Regions from separate parts of the Homo sapiens genome. Here regions 1, 3 and 4 are each linked to region 2. Evidence: promoter capture Hi-C in human tissues and cell types (Jung and others, 2019). All regions are on one chromosome and are shown on one strand. The core of a region is centred on a gene start or on the middle of the fragment in contact, and the rest is flanking DNA. Distances in the headings are between cores, read along the strand shown.

Region 1 (2,807 bases), core at 54-2,553, 88 kb after region 2:
GCTTAGCAATCTGTGCTTTAACACGTCCTTCCAGTGATTTCGACACAGCACTAGAGCTCAGAACTACTAGATTCCTTTATCCCATCCCTGTGTAATACACATGAGTAATGCTCAGTAAATGTTCTTGAAATGTATTTAATTAAGCCTACTGGATATGGACTCAATAATCCTCACCAAAATACTGCTATTCTTAGTATAAAGAGCAGGCCATTCTTCTCGAAGTTTGCTAGTCTCCCGCTAAAGGCTATACTAAGGCTAATCTTAGTGAAATTTTTTTTTGTCGCAAACAGTCACAGAGAAAGAGTTCATGATATACAAAATGATTTTATTAGATGCCAAATTTTTATTAACACCATTTTATTTCTTTTGCAGCTTTAATTTTTAACATTATAACATTTACTGGCTCCTCTGGGTGACTAAATATCTTCACATGCCCACTAGCTAAAAAGAATTTCTAAGTAGAACTCAACTGAAACTGCAAGCTACTGCTCTAAGAAATGCATACTTATGTTTATTTGCTCTCCTATATAATCCTGTTTACAAATAGCATAACTGCAAAGATTTATATGTAATTTCTAAATCCTTCAGGTTGCTCTACCATTCATCTTCTTATGTCTGGCAAGATAAACACTCTTAGTGAACACTTTGCTGCATCTCTTAAATGAGATTTGTCTCCAGTTTATTTCCTATAGAATAAGGGATGCACTTGGAACTGAAAAATTCCTTCAATTTCTAAAGTTTCCACATTCATACAACTTTTCTCCTGTAGGAGTTTGCAGGAGATTCCTATTGCCTATAGTCTTTCCCACATTTGCTACATGTACACAGATTTTTCCTAGTGTGAGTATACTTAGGTCAATTAAGGGATTAATACTGACAAAGGCTTTCCCACATTTATTGACTTCATATGATTTCTCTACAGTATAAACTCTAATAAAAAAATCTGCATCATTGCTAAAAGTCTCCCATGTTCACCACCTTCATACAACTTTTCCCCAGTATACATTTTTCTGATGTTAAATAAGGGAGGATCTATGAATGAAGTTTACCGTGATAAACACTGCTTCTCTTCTGTAAGATTTCTCACATGTATAGGGATTCATATGATCTAAAGGCTTTTCCACACTTACCACACTATTGGGTTTCTCTCCATTATGTACTCTTTGATGGGCAGTAAGATTCGAGCCTTTGCTAAAAGCTTTCCCACACTCACTACATTTATATGGCTTTTCTCCAGTATGAATTCTCTGATGTACAGTAAGGTTTGAACTACAGCTGAAGGTCTTCCCACATTTAATACATTCGTAAGGTTTCTCTCCAGTATGAATACTGTGATGTTGAAGCAGGGACGACCTATGACTAAAGGCTTTCCCACATATACTGCATTCGTAGGGTTTCAATCTAATGTGATTTCTCAAATGCATATTCAGTGATTCAAGCTGGTTGAAGGATTTCCTGCATTTCTAAACTTCAAACGGTTTTTCTTCAGTATGAATACTCTGATGTTGAACAAGAAATGAGAAGCTACTAAAGACCTTGAGACATTTGTTGCATTCATATTTTTTCTTCATACTGTGAATTCTTTGATGTTGAGTAAGGTGTGAGCTACAGCAGAAAGCTTTCCCACATTCTCTACATTCATAAGGCTTCTCTCCAGTATGGCTTTTCTGATGGTGAATGAGAGACGAACTATGAATGAAGGCCTTTCCACATATACGACACTCATAGCGTTTTTCTTGCGTATGAATTCTTAGATGCTGAATGAGAAGGGACACACGACTAAAAGACTTTCCACAGTTCATACATTCATACGGTTTCTCTCCCGTGTGAGTGCTCTGATGGTTAGTAAGTGATGAGCCATGGCTAAAGGCCTTCCCACATTCAATGCATTTGTAAGGTTTCTCTCCACTATGGCTTATCTGATGTCGTGTAAGGGATGAACCATGGCTAAAAGTCTTCCCACATTCACGACATTCATAGGGCTTCTCTCCTGTATGAATTCTCCAGTGGCGACTGAGGATTGACTGTTTGCCAAAGGCTTTCCCACATTCACTGCATGTATAGATTTTCTCTCTATTACAAGTCTGGGGAAGGGTAAGAGATTTGCTCTGGTTGAAGGCTGCCCCACTTTTATTAGAATTTAAAAGTTTCTTTCCACCATTTATTCTCTCACTTTTTATAACTGACTTTTTTGATAAATTCTTCTTTAATATATCATATTTGTGTGAATTCCCTTCAGCAGAATTGTTTTGTGGTTCAGAAAGAGTAGACTTTGAATGAAAGGTGCTTCTAAATGTGTCGCATTCTGTATATTCCAAATTCTTATTAGAATTTGAAAATTCATAACTTTGTTTTACAACTTTTTCCATTGTTACTGGTTGGGGTGAATCTTCATCATAAATATCCTTCTTTGTTGATAATTCCTTGTTTTCCCATCTTGATTCCCAATCTGAAATATATCAAGAAAGCAAAGCACTGCCTTTTTTTTTTTTTTTTTTTTTTTTTTTTTTTTTTTTTTTTTTTTTTTTTACTTCTTGAAAAAAGCTTCTACAGTGGAATTAGGAGAATTGGATAAGAAATGAAGCACCCAGAAAACACATAGTTCTGACAACTCAAATATTTCAGTGACTTCTGAACAATGCTCAAATAGAGCAGAGAATCCAAAGTTCACAGAAGCAGGAACAGAGTGTGATAAAGGAAATGGGTAAGCTGTACGAAATGGATAAAATAGTATGGAAAAAAGGAAAGTATCAGAAATAAGATGTGGAAGGCATTCAGGATTACAAATCATCATTTTGTGCCTATAT
Region 2 (2,700 bases), core at 159-2,658:
TGCTCTGGAGGACAGCACATCCTGGCTTCTCTTACATGTGGAGCTATTTGAGTGGTTTGTAGGCCATGGAATATAGGCAGAAGTGATTGCAAAATTGTGTCTTCATTATGTTTTCTTATTTCTGCTCCATCCTGGGGATGCCTCTTTGGATGTAATGCTTTTACTTTTCACAGTGTCCAGGATTATTGCCCTCTTCATGTGGGCTACAGGTTTGGGTGGTGGGCTGAAAGTGTCTTGATGAGACAAGATCTGGTGACCCTGAGTTGCTGGGCATAAGCTGGGCCATCTGGTTTGTGCCTGGTTCTGGCTTCCCTGGGGGCTGGAGGGGCAGATGGGGAGGGGTCAGATCCTGGTTGCTGTGAATTAGAGATGAACAGTGACACGCCATCTTACATCACAAACTAGAAACCATGTCAACTCCACTCTTCCCTTAGGGCTGCAGGTAATTAGTCTCAGTGATCCTAAGTTTTGAATCATGTAAGAAAGTATCCCTTGGGCAATAGGTCTACCTGTATATTAGGAAACCCTCCTGCATATACCGTTTTAAAAAGATGCATACGCCAAATGCTGCAACGTATTATTATGTAAAATTTAAACAGTATTCATGAGGCTCCTGTTGAATCAGTCAACGTATTTGTTTTGACAAATATCAGAGTCTGCAAAGAAGTATCTCAGACCCTCCCCTAGCAGTGTATTGTGATGATGTTGCCAATAATACAGAATATTAATAATGACAGCAATAGCTCTTATGTTCTTATCGGTATGTTCCAGGCCCAGTGCTAAGCAATTCTTAGTTACTTCCCACCAAACAGGTGGCTTTGTCTCATTTATTTACTGGAATTTAAAGAGTCTGGTTCTCAAATGTTTTGCAGCATCCACTTTTCCTGGACAAGTTAAGCAGAGGGCTGGGTCCCACCCCCCAGAGTACCTGATTCAGTGGGTGGGGACTAAGAACTTGCATTGGTAACAAATTCGCAGGTAATGCTGATGTCATCTGAAAATTACTGATAGGGGAAATTTTAATATTATCATATTAAATAATTATCTTCATTTTCCTTAGGAATCTCCATCTCAAGGCTCAGAGAGATGAACTGCTGGCGCAGGGATACACAGGGAGGAAAGTCAAGGCGTGAGTTGCCTGGTAGAGACATTTGAGAGTGGGTCATTGCCTCAGATAATTTCCACGGAACTCTGTGTGCCTCTCCTTTAAGAAGAGGTGAAGCCAATCCCTTTCTTGGGAGCCTTGAGAAGCCGCCTCACCGAGAACAGAAAGTGCGCTCCAGGTACCACCCGGATTCCGTCAAACTACATTACCCAGAAGGCAGTGCTACAAGGGACGGAAGCCGACCCCAAGCCATAGACGGAAGGCGCAGAGGGGCGTTCCCGTAGCGGCGTGGGCGGGACTTCCGGCGTCCAGTCTTCGTCCGCCGTTAGGTTGCGGCTGCTGTGGTTGCCAACGCTACACTGGGTAGAACGCCAGACAGGGGCCACTTTTCGAGACCGAGTAGAGACGGACAGTGAGGAGGATAGGACCCACTTACACGCTTTTATGTCAGCCGCGATCCCACCCCCACAAGCGTCTGCAAAACCCTTCCTGGGGCCTTGGCGACAGCCCTGTGTCCTCACGGCGCGCAGAGGCGGCGCCGCGAACCTTGTGTGCATTTTACACGACGGCGGGGACTGAGGTCCCTCGCAGCCCAGAGCCGGAGCCCGGGGTCGGCCGAGCCCGCAGGACCGGCTTCCTCGCCGACTCTCACGGCCTCACCCAGCCCCCTGGGCCCATGGCGGCGCCGGCGTTGGTGAGTGGAGGGTTCCGCAGCCCGCGCGAGCTCGGGTCACCGCCCGCATGCACCCATCCGCTGTAATACGGCGGATGCCGGGACTCTGTGCTTCTCCCTTTTGATGCCCTAGGTTATGGAGATCCCGGGAGAGGGTGAGGTGAGAGGGCAGGGCTAATCACTTCCTACCCAGGGTCCTGAATCCAGGACAGGAGTTGTAAGGAGAGGTCCCTGTCTCTGGCTCTAACCTGGAGCTGTCGCCTCGCTGCCCTCGGCCTCCATTCCCTCGGGTCTAAAATGCGAGTCTCAGTAATTTTCTCTGTGGAGGGAGCTGGAGAGGGTACGCTTGTGACGTGGGTCCTGTCTTTCACTGCTCGGAGAGCATCACTCTAGGTGCCGTCTTTGAAGAAGGACTCTCTAGGTCCTGCTGTTGTTTTAGGGGATCATTCCAGCGGAAGTCTGGCCCTACCAAAAGCTGGGAGAGGGAATGAGAGCCTCGAGGGCAAGAGGTGAGGCGGGAGCAGCATTTTTGGCAGGAGGCTAGAAGACAAGAAGCTCATTGGATTTATCTTTGCAGATGCCGTCTGTTTATTACAAATGAATCTGGCTTGCCGCCTAACAGCAGTGAATCCGTGCTTCTGTTTAACACATGCTCTTGTATTTGAAAAGCAAATCCAGCACAATATTCATTAATGACAGTGTACATGAATGTATGTCTCTTGGAGTGTGAGCACATAAGGCCCCAAGTTACTCTCCAGCATGTCACACTGTTTACTCCTCGTAGCTCTGATCACCTTCAGGAGTTGTCTATTCATTTTTCCTCACCTGGTCTGTTCTCTAACTTCAATCTAACCTTGTTCCAGGGTCTCTTCAGAGAGAGCTTCCCTGGTTGCATCATGTAAAGTCTCTCCCAGTCTTTGTG
Region 3 (2,700 bases), core at 201-2,700, 70 kb before region 2:
TGTGCAAAGATCACTAGGCAAGAGAAGAAGCGAGAGAGGAGGGGAGGAAGGTGCCAGGCTGTTTTTAACAATCAGCTCTTGCAGGGCTTAATAGAGTGAGAACTCACTCATCACTGTGAGGAAAGCTCCAAGACATCATGGGGGCTCCAACCCCATGACCCAAACACTTACCATCAGGCTCCACCTCTAACGCTGGGGATCACATTGCAACATGAGATTTGGAGGGGTCAAACAAACCAAACTATAGCATGGGGGAGTCAGATGTGGGGGGTCGGGGCAGCCCCTCCCATAAGTGATCTCACAGGGCGAAGATCTGAGCTGTTGTCTCCCTGTGCTGACCAATCTGCTCTGGAGAAAGGGGATCTGACTGATCTGACGGGGTCAGGGTCCCAGTGTTCCACACATAGGTCCCAGGAGTTGGAGTTTCATTGCACATGAACTTCTCATCAGGGTATGTTGCAACAGATGCTCGGACAAGGTCCGCATGTCAGCAAGCCTTCTCTGCATCTAAGCTTACTTGCTGCTTTGTCTTTCTTCCTGCCTTACCCCCTGCCCAGCACCCCCACTGCTTGCCTTCCTATTATCCACCATACCCCTTCCTTAGCATTAATCTTTTCTAAATGAATTGTCTAAAATATATTACAAACTACCATAGCAGTTATGAACAAAAGTTTTGGAGATGGAGAGTGGCAATAATTGTACATCAATATAAATGTACTTATTGCCAGTGAATTGTGCATTTAAAAATTGTTAAAATGGTAAATTTTATGTTGTTTATACACAATATAAAACCATTACGCTACGTAAGTGAGCCCAGCCACAAAGAACCACATAGTCTATCTCTGCCCTAATTATCGTCAATTTCATATCGTCAACTGCAATAGCAGTTGCCTATAAAACAATCAACGACGTTAGCATGACGTTGTGACTGCCTTTGCATCAAATGTTTTTTTTCGGATAAACCTTTTGGAGGTAAAATTTACATGAAAAATGCACCTGTTTTATGTTCGCTAAGTTTTAACAAATGTGTACACTCAAGGCCCCACCACAATTCAGGTACAGATCATTTCCATCATCCTAAAAAATCCCCTTATGCTCCTTTGTTGTTAGTTCCTCCGCATATCTAACCACAAACAACCATTTATCCGCTTTCTGACATTTCATATTAATCTTGCTATTTCTAAAATTTGTTATACACAGAATCAGAGTATGCAGTTTTGGGTGTGGGTATTTGATAAGCATAATGGTTTTGAGATGTGTCTGTGTTGTTGAATAAATGTCAGGTTCATTCTACTCTATTTCCCAGTAGTACCCCATGTTCATAGTGGAATCATCCACAATAGCCAAAAGCTGGAAGCAACCCAGGTATCCAGCAATGTAGGAATGGGGAAACAAAACATACAATGGCATATTATTCAGCCTCAAAAGGAAGGAAATTCTAATACATGCTACAATATGGATAAAACCTGAAAAAAAACTATGCCAGGTAAAACAACCTGGACATAGAAGGACAAAGGTGTCATTCTACTTATATGATATACCTGGAATAGGCAAATTCATAGAGACAGAATAGTGGTTACCAGAGCTGTGGGGAATGTGTGCTGGGGAGTTATTGTTTAATAGGTACAGAGTTTCAATTTAGGATGATGAAAAAGTTCTGGAGATGAATAGTGGCGATGGTTATACAACAATATAAATGTACTAAATGCCAGTGAATTGTACATTTAGAAATTGTTAAAATGGTAAATTTTGTGTTATGTATATGCCATATAAAACTATTATAATACATGAATGAATCCAGCCAGAAAGAACCACATAGTCTATGGTTTCATACAGGAAATGTCCAGAGTAGGTAAACTCAAAGAGAGAAAGTCGATTAATGCTTGCCTAGAACTGGGAGGTGTGGGGGTATTAGAAGGTGATGGCTAAGGTGTACAAAGATTCTTTTTGGGGTGATGAATACTTTACAAAATTGTGTTGATGGTTGCACATTTCTGTGAATAGACTAATAGCCATTGAATTCTATACTTCAAATACATGGATTGTATTTTACATGAATTGTCTCTCAAAAAAGCTATTAGAAAAGAATCAGCCGATACAATTCATCTCAATAGTTGTGAACAAACTAATCGAAAAAAGCTAATATTCCTTTCAAAAAAAATCTTTCAGTAAAGTAGGAAGTGGACGGAATTTCCTTATTTCTTTTATGTGATAATGCATGCATTGAACGAAAAAAAACTTCAGTTAACAGCATACTGAATATTTTCCCCCCAAGATCAGGAAGTAGAAAATGAAGTCCATTGACTTCTCTTGGATTCAATGTTGTATTGGAGGTTGCAGCAAATGTGGAGGATAAGAAAAATTAAAATCATACAGATTTAAAAGGAAAGGGTAAACTACTCAATGCACAGAAATCCTGATTGTGTATGCAGAAAATCCTATAATCCATCTATAAAAAATTATAAAAAGTAAGGTATGAATTTTGCAAGGTGCTAGTATACAAGATCAATATATATAAAACAATTATTTTTCTGTAAACTGCCGTATACTAATACACGTACAAATGTGTGTGTGTGTGTGTGTGTGTGTGTGTGTGTGTGTGTGTGTATCAGCTGGTGGAGTGAAGAATTAATATTGGTAAGTTGTCCGTTTCAGCCAGAATCCAGAAAGCTGGTCTAGGGCAGCAGTCCCCAACCTTTT
Region 4 (2,700 bases), core at 58-2,557, 120 kb before region 2:
AGAAAGAAGTCAATTCTTCTTCCACCGTTGACTAAAATAGAAAAGACATGTAAGCAGAGAGGATCAATGAACAAAAGGAAGGCATTCTCTCTCTCTCTCTCTATATATATATATATACACACACGTGATGTATATATGTATATATATACACATACATATACATTATATGTGTGTGTATATATATATACACATATAACATATATGTGTGTGTATATATATATGTGTGTGTGTGTTTATCAGTCTAGGAAAGAAAGAAAAGGGCCCACTGAGGCAAATGGGCTGGACCAAAGGAGGCAGCTACAGGCAGCAAGGGGTCCTGCCAGCGTAAGATGGCAGGAAAACTGGCCCATAGCTTGGTTCTACCAGACTGAGAAGTTGAAACTGGGTATGGTGTGGTGGATATACTTACTGATCTTTTTCTTCTTTCCACAGTAGACTGCCTCAAGGCCAGTGTGTTGACTTCTGACCAGTCTCATCTGAACCCACACCCTTTAACATATATACAAAACACCTGAAGGGTTGGGCTGCCAGCTTTCTTTAGGATGATAGAGGGCAGGTTAAGTTTGTTTGACATAACTAGAAGAGGTGGAGCCTCTTCCTAATGGAGCAAGGTCCATTTATGGCAAACTGTGGTCCCCCACCACTATCAGCTACTTCTGGATAGCTTTTGCTTAAAGTTGATGAGATATTGTTTCTTTCACTAGAAGAAAATGAATGAGTTGGTGATCCCAAACTTTGGCCTCCAAAGGAAGCCTGGGCAGGTGACAAATGTGTCCTAAGCGAGACTGCTGCTTCCATGCTCATGCTGGAGGTACATTTGCCCTGAAAGATGGAGCAAAAGTGCTGAAGCTTAGCACAGAGGATTAATGAATAAGAACAAGGCTATGTTATATCATATTTGTATAGCAATCTGGAAAAGAAAGAACGGGGCTTGTTAAGGCAAATGGGCAAGACAAAACGGGATATCTATAGGCAGCAAGGGGTCCTGCCAGTCTAAGACTAATGGAAAACTGGCCCATAGCCAGGTATTTTCTCAATGGTGTTCACTACACCAAGTCAGAGGGCTACTTTGTCTAGATAGAGCCCAGGTATTGTGAGTGAGTGCAGGAATAGAAGTGTCTTCCTAAAGGTGTATGTATGGTGTTCTCCTGGGAGACTGTAACAGATGTGCCCTGGGCAAGACCACGCCAGCAGCTGTCAATGATGCTGAGCATACAAATACCCTGGAGCCCAGGAATGGGGCTGCCTCCGCCCAGTGTATCACCTGTGCTCCAGACTGTGTACCCCAGGTCCTCTGCCAGTAGCATCTCCAATCACAGGTGAAATGCCAGCCCTTCAAACAGCACAGGTGGGCCCTAGGTGTCTGATGGAAGGAATGAACAGATATATCACGTGGCATGCATTTCTTCTCAGTGGTGCAGGTATCTCCAGCAGGTTTGCTCTGGCCAGGTGGGCCCCAGTACTTAGACCATATGCAGGAAGAGAAGACTCTCTAAAAATAGGTATGATGTTGGCCCCTTCCATTGCAACACACGTGCCCTGGACAGGTGGGATTCAGGTGTTCTGGCTATAGGTAGGAACATAAAGGCATCCGAGCATAGATGCAGTGCTGGTCCCTTAGACTGCAACAGGTGTACTTTAGTTAGGTGTGCCCCAGGTGGCTTGACTGGGGCAGGAAGAGAAGGATCTCAGCACAGGTATGGTGCTGGTCCCTTCCACTGGAACACAAGTGCTCTGGCCAAACAGGTCCCAGGTGATCTGAACAAAAGGGGGAACAGCCATGTCTTCTGAAACACTCCTTCTCAGTGATCACAAATCTTCCAGTAGTAGTAGGCGTGTTTTGGCTGGGCTGGCACCAGGTGCTCTAACTACAGGTGGGAAGGAAAGTGTTTCCCAGGGCAGATTTGATTTGCTCTCAGCAGTGCCGGCTTCTCCAATTGCAGCAGGAGTGCATCAGGGCTGACAGGACCCTGGCGCTCAGGTCTAAGCCTCCCCCATCATGAGCTGTGGTACTGGCTGTCCCCCAGCCATTTTGCTCCAAAGCTAAGCGATCTAGATGTGGTGGTAGACTCTGCGTGGTAGACCCAATGACCCCAAAGCTTTTGCTATCCATAAGGGCTTCAGATCCCACAAATACAAATTGGCTTGGATTGGCATCAGCAAGAAATGAGCAACAGTCCTCAGTGTTGTGCTTTCTGGTAGCATTTCATGGCAAGAGTAAGAGTGTCCACACCAATGGGTAAAACACCCGAGGCACCACCATGGGCTGCCTGAATGCTGACATTGATGCCAAAGTGGACACGGGAGTGTTTAGTTCCCAAAAGCCAACTGAGTTGTGCTGCCATTGGGTTCTAGGGCTGCAGTAGAGGTTAAGTGTGAAGGGTTTTCAGGGGCTGGCAGGTTTCTCAAAGGGAAACAGCTGTTAACATTGCAGGGAGAGACAGGATGATAACAGATGGGGACATGGGCATGGTACCCATGTTGATTTCCTTAGAGGCAAAGTCAGGCGGAGACACCAAGTCTGAAGACGGGTTGTATACTGGAGTGGAGGTGACTGCAGAATCAGTGGTAGGTGGGCCAGAAAAGACAGGGCACTGGGGGGAGTGGTTCTCTGGCAAGGCCCTGAATCAGGACCCCCAGATTTCAGCTGGTAAGTGTTTCCTGAATCAAAAGCAAGCTTAGAAGTTCAAGTAGGGCTGC

What was found. Contacts are between HindIII fragments. The study calls those that stand out against the background at their distance.
Region 1: a fragment that was not itself captured here is called in contact with the fragment with the promoter of ZNF599 in region 2 in 3 of the 25 tissues and cell types used here (bladder, dorsolateral prefrontal cortex and mesenchymal stem cells).
Region 3: a fragment that was not itself captured here is called in contact with the fragment with the promoter of ZNF599 in region 2 in 2 of the 25 tissues and cell types used here (H1 embryonic stem cells and spleen).
Region 4: a fragment that was not itself captured here is called in contact with the fragment with the promoter of ZNF599 in region 2 in 2 of the 25 tissues and cell types used here (dorsolateral prefrontal cortex and thymus).

What each region holds. Positions count from the first base shown.
Region 1 is chr19:34,683,894-34,686,700 of GRCh38, reverse strand. ZNF302 (zinc finger protein 302) reads right to left here. Exons shown (of 5, transcript NM_001289187.2): 5 at 305-2,449. The coding sequence ends at 1,464. Among named protein-coding and RNA genes, the nearest start is that of ZNF302, 7.6 kb to the right of the region's middle. The HindIII fragment of the contact is 3,944 bases long and covers 1-2,807 here.
Region 2 is chr19:34,771,923-34,774,622 of GRCh38, reverse strand. It overlaps ZNF599 (zinc finger protein 599), which reads left to right and starts at 1,408. Exons shown (of 4, transcript NM_001007248.3): 1 at 1,408-1,799. The coding sequence starts at 1,782. It overlaps LOC124904696 (a long non-coding RNA gene), which reads right to left and starts at 1,276. Exons shown (of 2, transcript XR_007067234.1): 1 at 929-1,276; 2 at 1-356. RefSeq lists an enhancer at 1,478-1,587 and a silencer at 1,698-1,757. The HindIII fragment of the contact is 7,437 bases long and covers 1-2,700 here.
Region 3 is chr19:34,842,221-34,844,920 of GRCh38, reverse strand. The region is part of intron 3 of LINC02965 (long intergenic non-protein coding RNA 2965); the gene reads right to left. Among named protein-coding and RNA genes, the nearest start is that of LINC02965, 4.9 kb to the right of the region's middle. The HindIII fragment of the contact is 8,258 bases long and covers 1-2,700 here.
Region 4 is chr19:34,890,029-34,892,728 of GRCh38, reverse strand. LINC00904 (long intergenic non-protein coding RNA 904) reads left to right here. Exons shown (of 6, transcript NR_187844.1): 6 at 433-897. Among named protein-coding and RNA genes, the nearest start is that of LINC00904, 14 kb to the left of the region's middle. The HindIII fragment of the contact is 4,130 bases long and covers 1-2,700 here.